Linked DNA regions of Homo sapiens: region 2 is linked to region 1. Evidence: promoter capture Hi-C in 16 types of primary human blood cells and fetal thymus (Javierre and others, 2016). All regions are on one chromosome and are shown on one strand. Each heading gives the region's core, a stretch centred on a gene start or on the middle of the fragment in contact. The rest is flanking DNA. Distances are from core to core; before and after follow the strand shown. Region 1 holds the start of KIFC3 (kinesin family member C3). Region 2 overlaps CFAP20 (cilia and flagella associated protein 20).

The links. Contacts are between HindIII fragments. The CHiCAGO score rates a contact against its expected background, and 5 or more counts as called.
Region 2: a fragment that was not itself captured here is called in contact with the fragment with the promoter of KIFC3 in region 1 in 1 of 17 cell types (endothelial precursors); the score reaches 5.6 in endothelial precursors.

The regions. Positions count from the first base shown.
Region 1 is chr16:57,800,272-57,804,943 of GRCh38, forward strand. KIFC3 (kinesin family member C3) reads right to left here and starts at 2,220. Exons shown (of 20, transcript NM_001130100.2): 1 at 2,099-2,220. RefSeq lists enhancers at 1,163-1,839, 2,517-3,193. The HindIII fragment of the contact is 12,094 bases long and covers 1-4,672 here.
Region 2 is chr16:58,121,625-58,126,460 of GRCh38, forward strand. All of the region lies in intron 1 of CFAP20 (cilia and flagella associated protein 20), which reads right to left. Among named protein-coding and RNA genes, the nearest start is that of CFAP20, 5.3 kb to the right of the region's middle. The HindIII fragment of the contact is 219 bases long and covers 2,203-2,421 here.

The sequences.
Region 1 (4,672 bases), core at 970-3,469:
CTAGGTTCAGTCTTACTGGGAAGGGGATGGGAATGTGGGCCAAAGGACAGGGCAGAGGCTGATCTAAATACGTGGGCCAGCTCCACTGAGGAAACTGAGATGGACCAGTGTGGCGTGGAAGAAACCAAGGGGAGCAGCCAAATGTCCTCTTCTCCAGGCTGCCTGGCACAGAGCTGGGCACACAACCAACCCTGCAGACCAGCTGTCCAATGGGCAAGGGAAGGAGCAAGGCAGGTCCATCTGCAGTCTCGGCTGCTGGGAAGGTGAGACAGTGCAGGGCATTGGAGGCTGACTCCACAGTGGACAGAGAAGACTTTCAGGGAGATCAGCTCAGCTCAGTCTGAGGGGCAGGGACAGGAGGAGATAGCGTTTCTGCGGTTATCAGGAAGGGAAGTGGAGGAGGCAGCCAGGAAGATATCGGGAAGAAAGAGGAAGGGCGTGTGCTAGATCCCGAAGAGGAAAAAGCAGCTGAATTTAGCAGCCTCAGGGGTGTGAAGGTCAAAAGTATCAAGGAATCTTAAGCCCAGGGTTCTGGGCCAAGAAAGCAGGACTCTCTCTCATTTACATGGGCATCTGAGATGAAACCTGGTGTCCGGGGACTTCTACCAACCTAGGATTCGTGGGGGAGGGCAGTGGGACTGGTTCAGAACCTGGCTCCCCTGTTTACTAGATGTCTGACCTTGGGAGAATTACTTTGCCTCTCCGTACTTCATTATCTCCATCTATAAAATGGGGAGAACACCACCTTATAGGGTTGCTCTAAAGATTAGACAAGGCCAAGTGTTCAGAACAATACTGGCATATACAAAGAGCTCCAAAATTTTATTTTTCAGTTACTTTGCTCCAGTGGTGGGTGAATGCAGAGGGCCTGGCTGGGGAAGAGGGTCTCTGCCTCTCTGGGTTTAGACCAGGACAGCAGAGCTGCAATACTCCCCCTGCCCTAGATCAGGGACATTGCAAAGACTGGGGGGACAGGCTGGACAGCTGCTCAGAGACTGCAGCAAGCAGGGCTTGGTCGCCCTGGGAGAGCAGGCAGAAGGTCAAGGAAGTTGTACAGGGAATGCCACCTCCCTGCACACCATCATCTATCCTGGGCTTTCCAGGGCAACCTAGATTTCAAACCCTCTGCTCCCTGGTGCCCCTGTGAACAGCAGAACTCACCACCCTGTGCCCCTAAAGTCCACTCACTGCAAATGCAGGGCCCCATTCTGAGACTGCATTCCTAGCAAATGACTCTCCCTGGTCAAGGAGACGGCTACTCTAACAAGGGCATGGGGAATACACGTCTGGGAAAGAATGGGTGCTCACCCTGTTCAGGCAGAGGAAAAGCCGGGGAAGGTGAAAGACCAGGGGTGGCCACAACCCGCAATCTTGAGACAGTGTTGGGGTATGGAGGTGGGGGCTGGGTGGCAGTAAATGGTACTCCAGAATTTAATTAAACACAGCTTCCTCTTTAATATCTCCCAGGACCAGGCCCTTCACTGCACCAGCCAGAGTTCTGCTCTAACTAGCAATGCTGGGCTTAAAGGGGTGGTCCTGGGATCGCCCTCCCTGCTGAGACCCTCACAACTGCTGCGGCTGTCAATGGCCCGATTCCTCACTGCCCGGAGGGCACCGGCCAAGGCCCTTCTTCCTAACCTCTGGGCGGGCGCACCCCGCCCCAGGCCCTGCCAGGGAAAAAGCGAACTCCCCAAGGGACGTGGTGGGAGGGACCCAAAGGCAGCCTTCCAGGGAGCCCTGGGGGTGGGGAAGACGCCAGGAAGGGGAGAGGGCGGCGCCGATTGACAAGCCCATCCCGGGTAGGGTCTGCGCTCTTCTCGTTCAATAAAATCCAAACGGGGTCCCGAGGCTGCTCGGATCCCGTGGGACACGCCGCCCCTGTGCCCAGCTCCCAGCAAGGTCCTCGACTCGGGCTGAACGGCGCTGGAGGGGACCTCGCAGGGCTGGGTCTCCCGGGCCTTTCCCTCCCCGCGCCCATAGCGGGTCCGGGCAGAGGGGTCCCGAGGGCAGGGCCGGCCCGGACGCGGCGCCCCAAACGGCGGGCCGGGCAGAGCCCAGCGCCCCGCTCGCACCCAGCCCGCCCGGGCCCCCCACTCACCGGCCTGGCGGAGGCAGGATCCAGGCGTCGCCGCAGCGCCCGGGGCTCGGCCCGGCCCGGCCCGCCGGCAGGAGGCAGCTCCACGCCGCCGCCTCCTCCTCGGCCAGCCCGCTCGCGCCCCTCCCGCACACTTTCCACAGGAAATGATTAACTCGGGCCGCGGCGCGTTCCCATGGCAACCGGCTCCGACCCCGGCGGGGGGCGGCGGCGCGCGCCCGCACTCACGCGCACTGGCGCGCACGCGTCAGCCCGGGCGCGCCCCCGCAGGTCTCCCGCCGGCACTCCCACTCCCACTCCCACTCCTTCGCGGGGCCTCCCACTCGGTCTCTCCCGCCTCCCCGCGTCCCGCACTCGCACTGGCACACGTGCTCATGCGTTCCCTGAAGGCTCTCACAAAACAGGCCTGCACACGGGCTGGCACACACGAGGCAGCCCACACAGCCCCACACCTGGTGAGCCATGCGTACTTTTGCACAGCCTCAAACCCGAGTGCAAAACTTCCACGCGAGTACTCACACATACACTTCTCACGCGGGCTCTCATACCAGTACGTGTCTTCCCATCCCAACACACACACAAGCTCTTACTCACGAGACAATACATGTACATCCCTTACCGTGTCCTTGCACGCGCTGGCGCACATGCACTCACACTGTTTACAGCGCACACGCTCTCACTCGCTCCACCACCTACTCGCTGGCCAGGCCGCCTTCTAGCCACAGCACTTCCTACCTCTGCACCCCCAGCCCCACCCCAGCAAATGAATATCTTCCCAGCAAGGAAGCTGCCTGGAGTCCCTTAAGGTAAAACACACCAATGGTGCAGCAGTTCCCGGCCTTGCTGCAGAAGGCCCTGCTACTGGGGCACCTAGAGCCTCAGAAGAGGCCTGGGGGAGGCCAGGGGCCTGCCAGCCGGGAGAGACAGCTGACCTGGAGGAGCCACTCTGTTCTTTGTCTCCCAAACAGAGGCAGCATTTTATTCCAGAGCCAGCAGCAATATTCTCCCTCACTCTCCACACCCCCGGGTGCGGAAGAGGAGAAAGCAAGTCACTCTGAAGCCAGCCCATGCAGGCTGACGGTTCTGCAGATAATCCCAGGAGGGCGGGTACTCTGTCCCTTCCTGCTTGTCAGGGGATGGCCCAAGAAGATCAAGGAGAGGACTGGAGGGGGTCGGGCAACTCCAGGTGGGTTCTATCTCCTGCTGCCGCCCAGGCGCTGGGCTGCCAGTCAAGAATCTCGACCAGCGACGGAGCCAAGGGCCTGGGCCTCAGATTGTTCTGGACGCCAGAGCAGGACAGTCACAGTCCCCCAGCTGGAAGCAGCCTAGTGCATGCTTTATTTGACAACTGAGATTCCTCAGTGAAGGCCTGATAGAGGGTGAATGTAACGCTCCTGGAATCATTCCCTAGAGAGTTAGATTTCCAGCTGAACACCACACTGGAGAACCCTTCCAATGGGAGAGAAAGCCTTATTTGGGGAGTTATGATCTCTGAATTCCTCTGCCTGCCCTCCAAACAGCAGTGATCCAGGGGACCGCAAGGGTGGATGAAGGCAAAATGTCTCTAGAATTCTGATTTAGTATCTATCTCCCTTGATTATAGTCCCTATGAGTTGATGGGGCGGGGGATGGGGAGGACAGAATGTCTTTAAAGTCCTGGTTCAAAACTGGAGACTTTTTCTTACTCAGGGATTGAGTACATTGACATTAACTGTAGGTCCTTCCCACCAAAGCCAAAGCCAGATTTTTAAATTAATAATAACATTTATTGTTCTTTTGCTTTGATTACAAAAGTAATAGATGTTCATTGTAACCATATCCCACACACTGGAGATAAATGCTGCCAACACTTTAGAAGTCTTTTTTTTTCCTGTGTACATAATAGATGCCATTATTGAAGCTAACACTGTGTCAGGCACAGCACTAAGCTCTTTATAAACAAAATCCCATTTAACCCTGAACACCCTATGAACACCAGTACTGTTTCAGGACACCCGTGTTTCAGGAAAGGAAACTGAGCCTCAGAAAGTTTGTTCACAAATGCAGTGTGTGATAGAGCTATGACTCCAATAGGTACTCACACAGTACTATCAGATGCATATGGGTATAACAACTTATTAAGATCAAAGCACCAGCGAAGGAAAAAGGAAATTGAAGTGTAAGGAGGTTGTATTTTTGGAATTCTAGCAAAACTCCGATTTGAAACGTAAAAACTACTTGTTTCATGGTTGTTGCATTTTTGAGACAAGATCTTGATCTGTTGCCCAGGCTGGAGTGCAGTGATGCAATCATAGCTCACTATAGCCCCGAACTCCTGGGATCAAGTGATCCTCCCACCTGAGCCTCCTGAGTAGCTGGGACTACAGGCACACACCAGTGTGCCTAGCTAATTTTTTTTTTTTTTAAGTAGAGATGGGGGTGTCTCACTATGTTGCCCAGGCTGGTCTCAAACTCCTGGGCTCAAGGGATCCTTCTACCTTGGCTTTCCAAAGTCCTGGGATTACAGATGTGAAGATGTGAATCACTGTGCCTGACTCAATTTTTTTTTTTTTTTTTGAGACGGGGGCTCGCTCTGTC
Region 2 (4,836 bases), core at 1,062-3,561, 320 kb after region 1:
GGCAATTACAGATCATAATGGTTCTCTGCCTCTGCAGACAACAGAGGTGACCAAAGCTTCAGGCCAGTCTTACAATCACTCTCCCAGGCTTTCCATGGTTGCTAGGGCAACTAATAAAGAACACCGATTTCTCTCCCTCCCCGCAATGTAAGCCTCAGGGAGGTGGGTCAAGCTGAGGGAAAAAAAAAATACTACTACTGGGATAGGGAGGGAGCTGGTGGATGCTGTATATTTCTATGACTGCTTTAAAAATAACATGAGTTGTATCCATTCCCTCCCCCAACTTTCATTTTTCTGGCCCCACCCACTCAGCCTGGCAGGCAGCTGAACCCTCAGCCATCTGGCATCCTAGCTTTAATGACACATGCTCTAATTTACATTAAACCATTAGAGCTGTCCATTTCAGCAGGAAAGTTCCTGCACTGGGTTAAGGGCTGGGTTCCCAGACAGAAATTAGGCAGAGGGAGACCCCTGTGGGGAGAACTGAGCATAGCTCCGACTCAGACTCCCAGGCTCCAAGGGTCAAAGGCTTCACTCCCTTCGCTGTACTTGACAGGGGCTATCCAGACAGCAGACAAGCAACTCTGGGCATACACCAACAACCCCTAAGTCAGCGTAAGGACAATTATGTGCACAGCTAAGAAAAGGCAAGTGTAATTAAAACCCATGTCTTCGGACGGGCGCGGTGGCTCACGCCTGTAATCCCAGCACTTTTGGAGGCTGAGGTGGGAGGATCACCTGAGATCAGGAGTTTGAGACCAGCCTGGGCAACATGTGAAACCCCATCTCTACTAAAAATACAAAAAAATTAGCTGGGTGTGGTAGCGCATGCCTGTAATCCCAGCTACTCAGGAGGCTGAGGCAGGAGAATTGCTTGAATCCAGAAAGAGGAGGTTGCAGTAAGCTGAGATTGTGCCATTGCACTCCAGCCTGGGTGACAGAGCGAGACTCTGTTTCAAAAAAAAAGAAAAACAAAACCAAAAAACCATGTCTTCGTTCAATTACAGTAAAACCTGACTCAGAATAATGAAGAACATTCTCCAAGTCAGAAAAAAAGTTTTACCACCTTTATGTCCAAATACACTCAATTCTACTACTGAAAACAGCACCAATTTAATTTTTATCAACAAGGCATGCTAACTAAAAACTAGAATGTAGGAAATTTTTTCTGAAGAGAGACTTTATTTTTAAAATTAGAACAGGACATGGGAATCTAACACTATCCAGCAACAGCAGAAGACTCTGGTCTAATATTTAGTCTTGGAGTAGGGGAGAAACAGCAGCAGCTGAGAGAAAGACAGGGTGACAGGAAAGACAGACAAAGGCGTTTTCATGAATTAATGCAATCTCATCTCATGTACTTTTAGGATACTATCTTGTTTTTTTTGAGACAAAGTTTTGCTTTTGTTGCCCAGGCTGGAGTGCAATGGCACCATCTCGGCTCACCGCAACCTCCACCTCCCGGGTTCAAGTGATTCTCCTGCCTCAGCCTCCCGAGTAGCTGGGATTACAGGCATGTGCCACCATGCCCGGCTAACTTTTGTATTTTTAGTAGAGACGGGATTTCTTCATGTTGGTCAGGCTGGTCTTGAACTCCTGACCTCAGCTCGCCTTGGCCTCCCAAAGTGCTAGGATTACAGGCGTGAGCCACTGCGCCCAGCCAGGATTACTACCATTAAGACCGAAAATTGGCTGGGCGCAGTGGCTCACGCCTGTAATCCCAACACTTTGGGAGGCCAAGGCAGGCGGATCACGAGGTCAGGAGATCGAGACCATCCTGGCTAACACGGTGAAAACCTATCTTTACTAAAAATGCAAAAAATTAGCTGGGCGTGGTGGCGGGCGCCTGTAGTCCCAGCTACTCCGGAGGCTGAGGCAGGAGAATGGCGTGAACCCAGGTGGTGGAGCCTGCAGTGAGCCGAGATCGTGCCACTGCACTCCAGCCTGGGGGACAGAGCAAGACTCTGTCTCAAAAAAAAAAAAAAAAAAAAAAAAAAAAAAAAAAGACTGAAAATTACAGCATGTTTTACACAAGTATAAGTGGGAACAGAACCTCCTGGTATTTTCCTTACAACCAGAAGTAATGTTTACATTAAACGTAAGAGTCTTTTAATAAATATAAGATTTGCTGGTCCCAGATGTCAAGGTAACATTAAAGAAACCCCTAATTTCTTCTAAGCTGTTGGTTTAGAAACTTACAAAAGCTTCTATCAGGAAACTGTATAGCCAGGAATACAGACCTTAAGAAGCTAATAATGTCAAGTGTGATAAGAAAGAAGTAAATTAACTTACCCTGAAGAGTTAAGGAAGGTCACTCTGAGAAAGGCCTTTGAACTGTGACTGGAGCCTAATGAAAAGATGGGAGTGAGGCTTGTGGGGTGGTGAGGGGCAGCGCCCAGCAGAAGGACCAGGAAGTGCAAAAGCTTGAAGGTGAGAGAACAGGACTTCCTTCAATTCAGTAGGAGGCTACTACTAAGAGGGGGAACCGGGTGAAGTGAGTCCCGCCTGGAGAACAAGTGAAGCAGGTGCCAGAGCATGGGTTATGTGGCCTTAGAGCCACATTAAGGGCTTAGGGCTGGGCGAGCCACGGTGCAACAACTAAATTCTTCTCATTTCAGGAGTCTGGTTTTACAGTACTTCCTATTCCTAGAAATCTGGATGGTGGGCTAAGTTCAAACATCTTATTTTAGTTTTGAGCAAATTCCTCAGTCCCTGCCATATTTAATTCTGTATGTCATTACTTATAAAGTACTAACTACAGTCATGCATTGCTTAAGGATGGGATTACGTTCTGAGAAATGCCTCATTAGGCAGTTCCATGGCTGTGTGAATATCAGAGTGTACTTACACAGACTTAGACAGTACAACATCCTACACACCCGGGCCATATGGTATAGCCTATTGCCCCTAGGCTACAATCTGTACAGCATACTACTGTACTGAATACTGTAGGCAACTGTAACATAATGGTACGTATTTGTGTGTCTAAACATAGAAAAGGTACAGTACTGTATAAACGATAAAAAGTGACACAACTGGATAGGGCACTGGCCATGAGTGGAGCATGCAGGACTGGAAGTTGCTCTGGGTTGAGTCAGTGAGTGAGTGGTGAGTGAATGTGAAGGCCTAGGACATTACTGAACACTTTGTAAACACAATACACTTATGCTACAATACATTTATTTTATTTAGTTATTTAGTTAGTGCTGGGATTACAGGCATGAGCCACTGTGCTTTAGTTATTTAGTTAGTGCTGGGATTACAGGCATGAGCCACTGTGCCTGGCCAGACTACACTAAATTTATTAAAAATATTTTTCTTTCATCAATAATAAATTAACCTTGGCTTACTGGAACTTTTTTACTTTATAAACTTTAAAAATTTTAAAAACTTTTAGACTATTTTGTAATAACACTTAGCTTAAAACACAATGTTCAACTGCACAAAAATATTTTCTTTCTATATATCTTTATTCCATAAGGTTTTTCCTATTTCTTTTTTTAACTTTTTAAACTTTTTTGTTAAAAACTAAGACACAAACACACACATGAGCCCAGGCCCGCACAGGGTCAGGATCATTAACATCAATCACAGTCTCCACCTCCACATGCTGTCCCACTGGAAGGTCTGCAAGAGCAATAACGCACATGGCGCTGTCATCTCCTATGACAACACTGCCTTCTTCTGAAATATCTCCTGAAGGACCTGCCTAAGGTTATTTTACAGTTAACTTTTTGTTCTTGTTGTTAAGTAGGAGTACATTCTAAAATTATGATAAGGCCAGGCACGGGAACTCATGCTTGTAATTCTAGCACTTTGGGAGGCTGAGGCAGGAGGACTGCTTGAGCATAGGAATTCAAGACCAGCCTGGGCAACATGGAGAAACCCCGTCTCTACAAAAATACAAAAATTAGTGAGGTGTGGTGGTGAGGGCCTGTAGTCCCAGCTACTTGGGAGGTTGAGGTGGGAGGATTGCTTGAGCCCAGGAGATGGAGACTGCAGTGAGCCCTGATTGCACTACTGCATTCCAGCCTGGGCAACAGCAAGACCTTGTCTCAGAAAAATAAAATACAATAAAATAATGATAAAGAGTATAGTAAATACATAAGCCAGTAACATAGTCATTTATCATCAAGTGTTAGGCACTGAACATCATTGTATATGCTATACTTTTACATGACTGGCAGTGCAGTAGGTTGGTTTACACCTACTCACAAACACGAGTAATGCATTTGACTTAACGAACAACTATTATGTCACTAAGCGACAGGAATTTTTCAGCTCCATGATAATCTTATGGCACCACTGTCATGTGTAAGGTCTGTCGTTGACTGAAACGCCATCATGTGGTGCATGACTACATATACTGTAACTCTGTTGCTAAGGACTTTATATACAGCTTCATTGAATCTTCATAACCGTGAGAAATAGACGAGAAAACTGAATGGTTAAGGACATAGCTAAGATCACACAACTGGAACACAGCACAGCCAGGATGCAAATCCAAGGTGTCTGACCACGCCCTAGCATTGAGGTTTTTCGGTAAGGTACTGTTCTTCTGCTTAAGGAACCTGCAGTCCAGTGGACGATCTACAATAGAAAACTGCCAGCCACAGGCACACCCATGAGGCTTAACTCAAGTTCTCAATGAAAAGAATGTTTAAGTTGAGATTGGAAGGATGAGATGGAGGGGAGGGGCTGTGAGCTTCAGAGAGTCAAATAAATTGCCGGTGTGACAAACACTAACGAACAAGCCATCTTCACAAAAGGGAAGCTTGCAAATTCACTGGTACTGTGAATACAGCGTTCACTTCTATGCAGACAGAGCCTAAACAA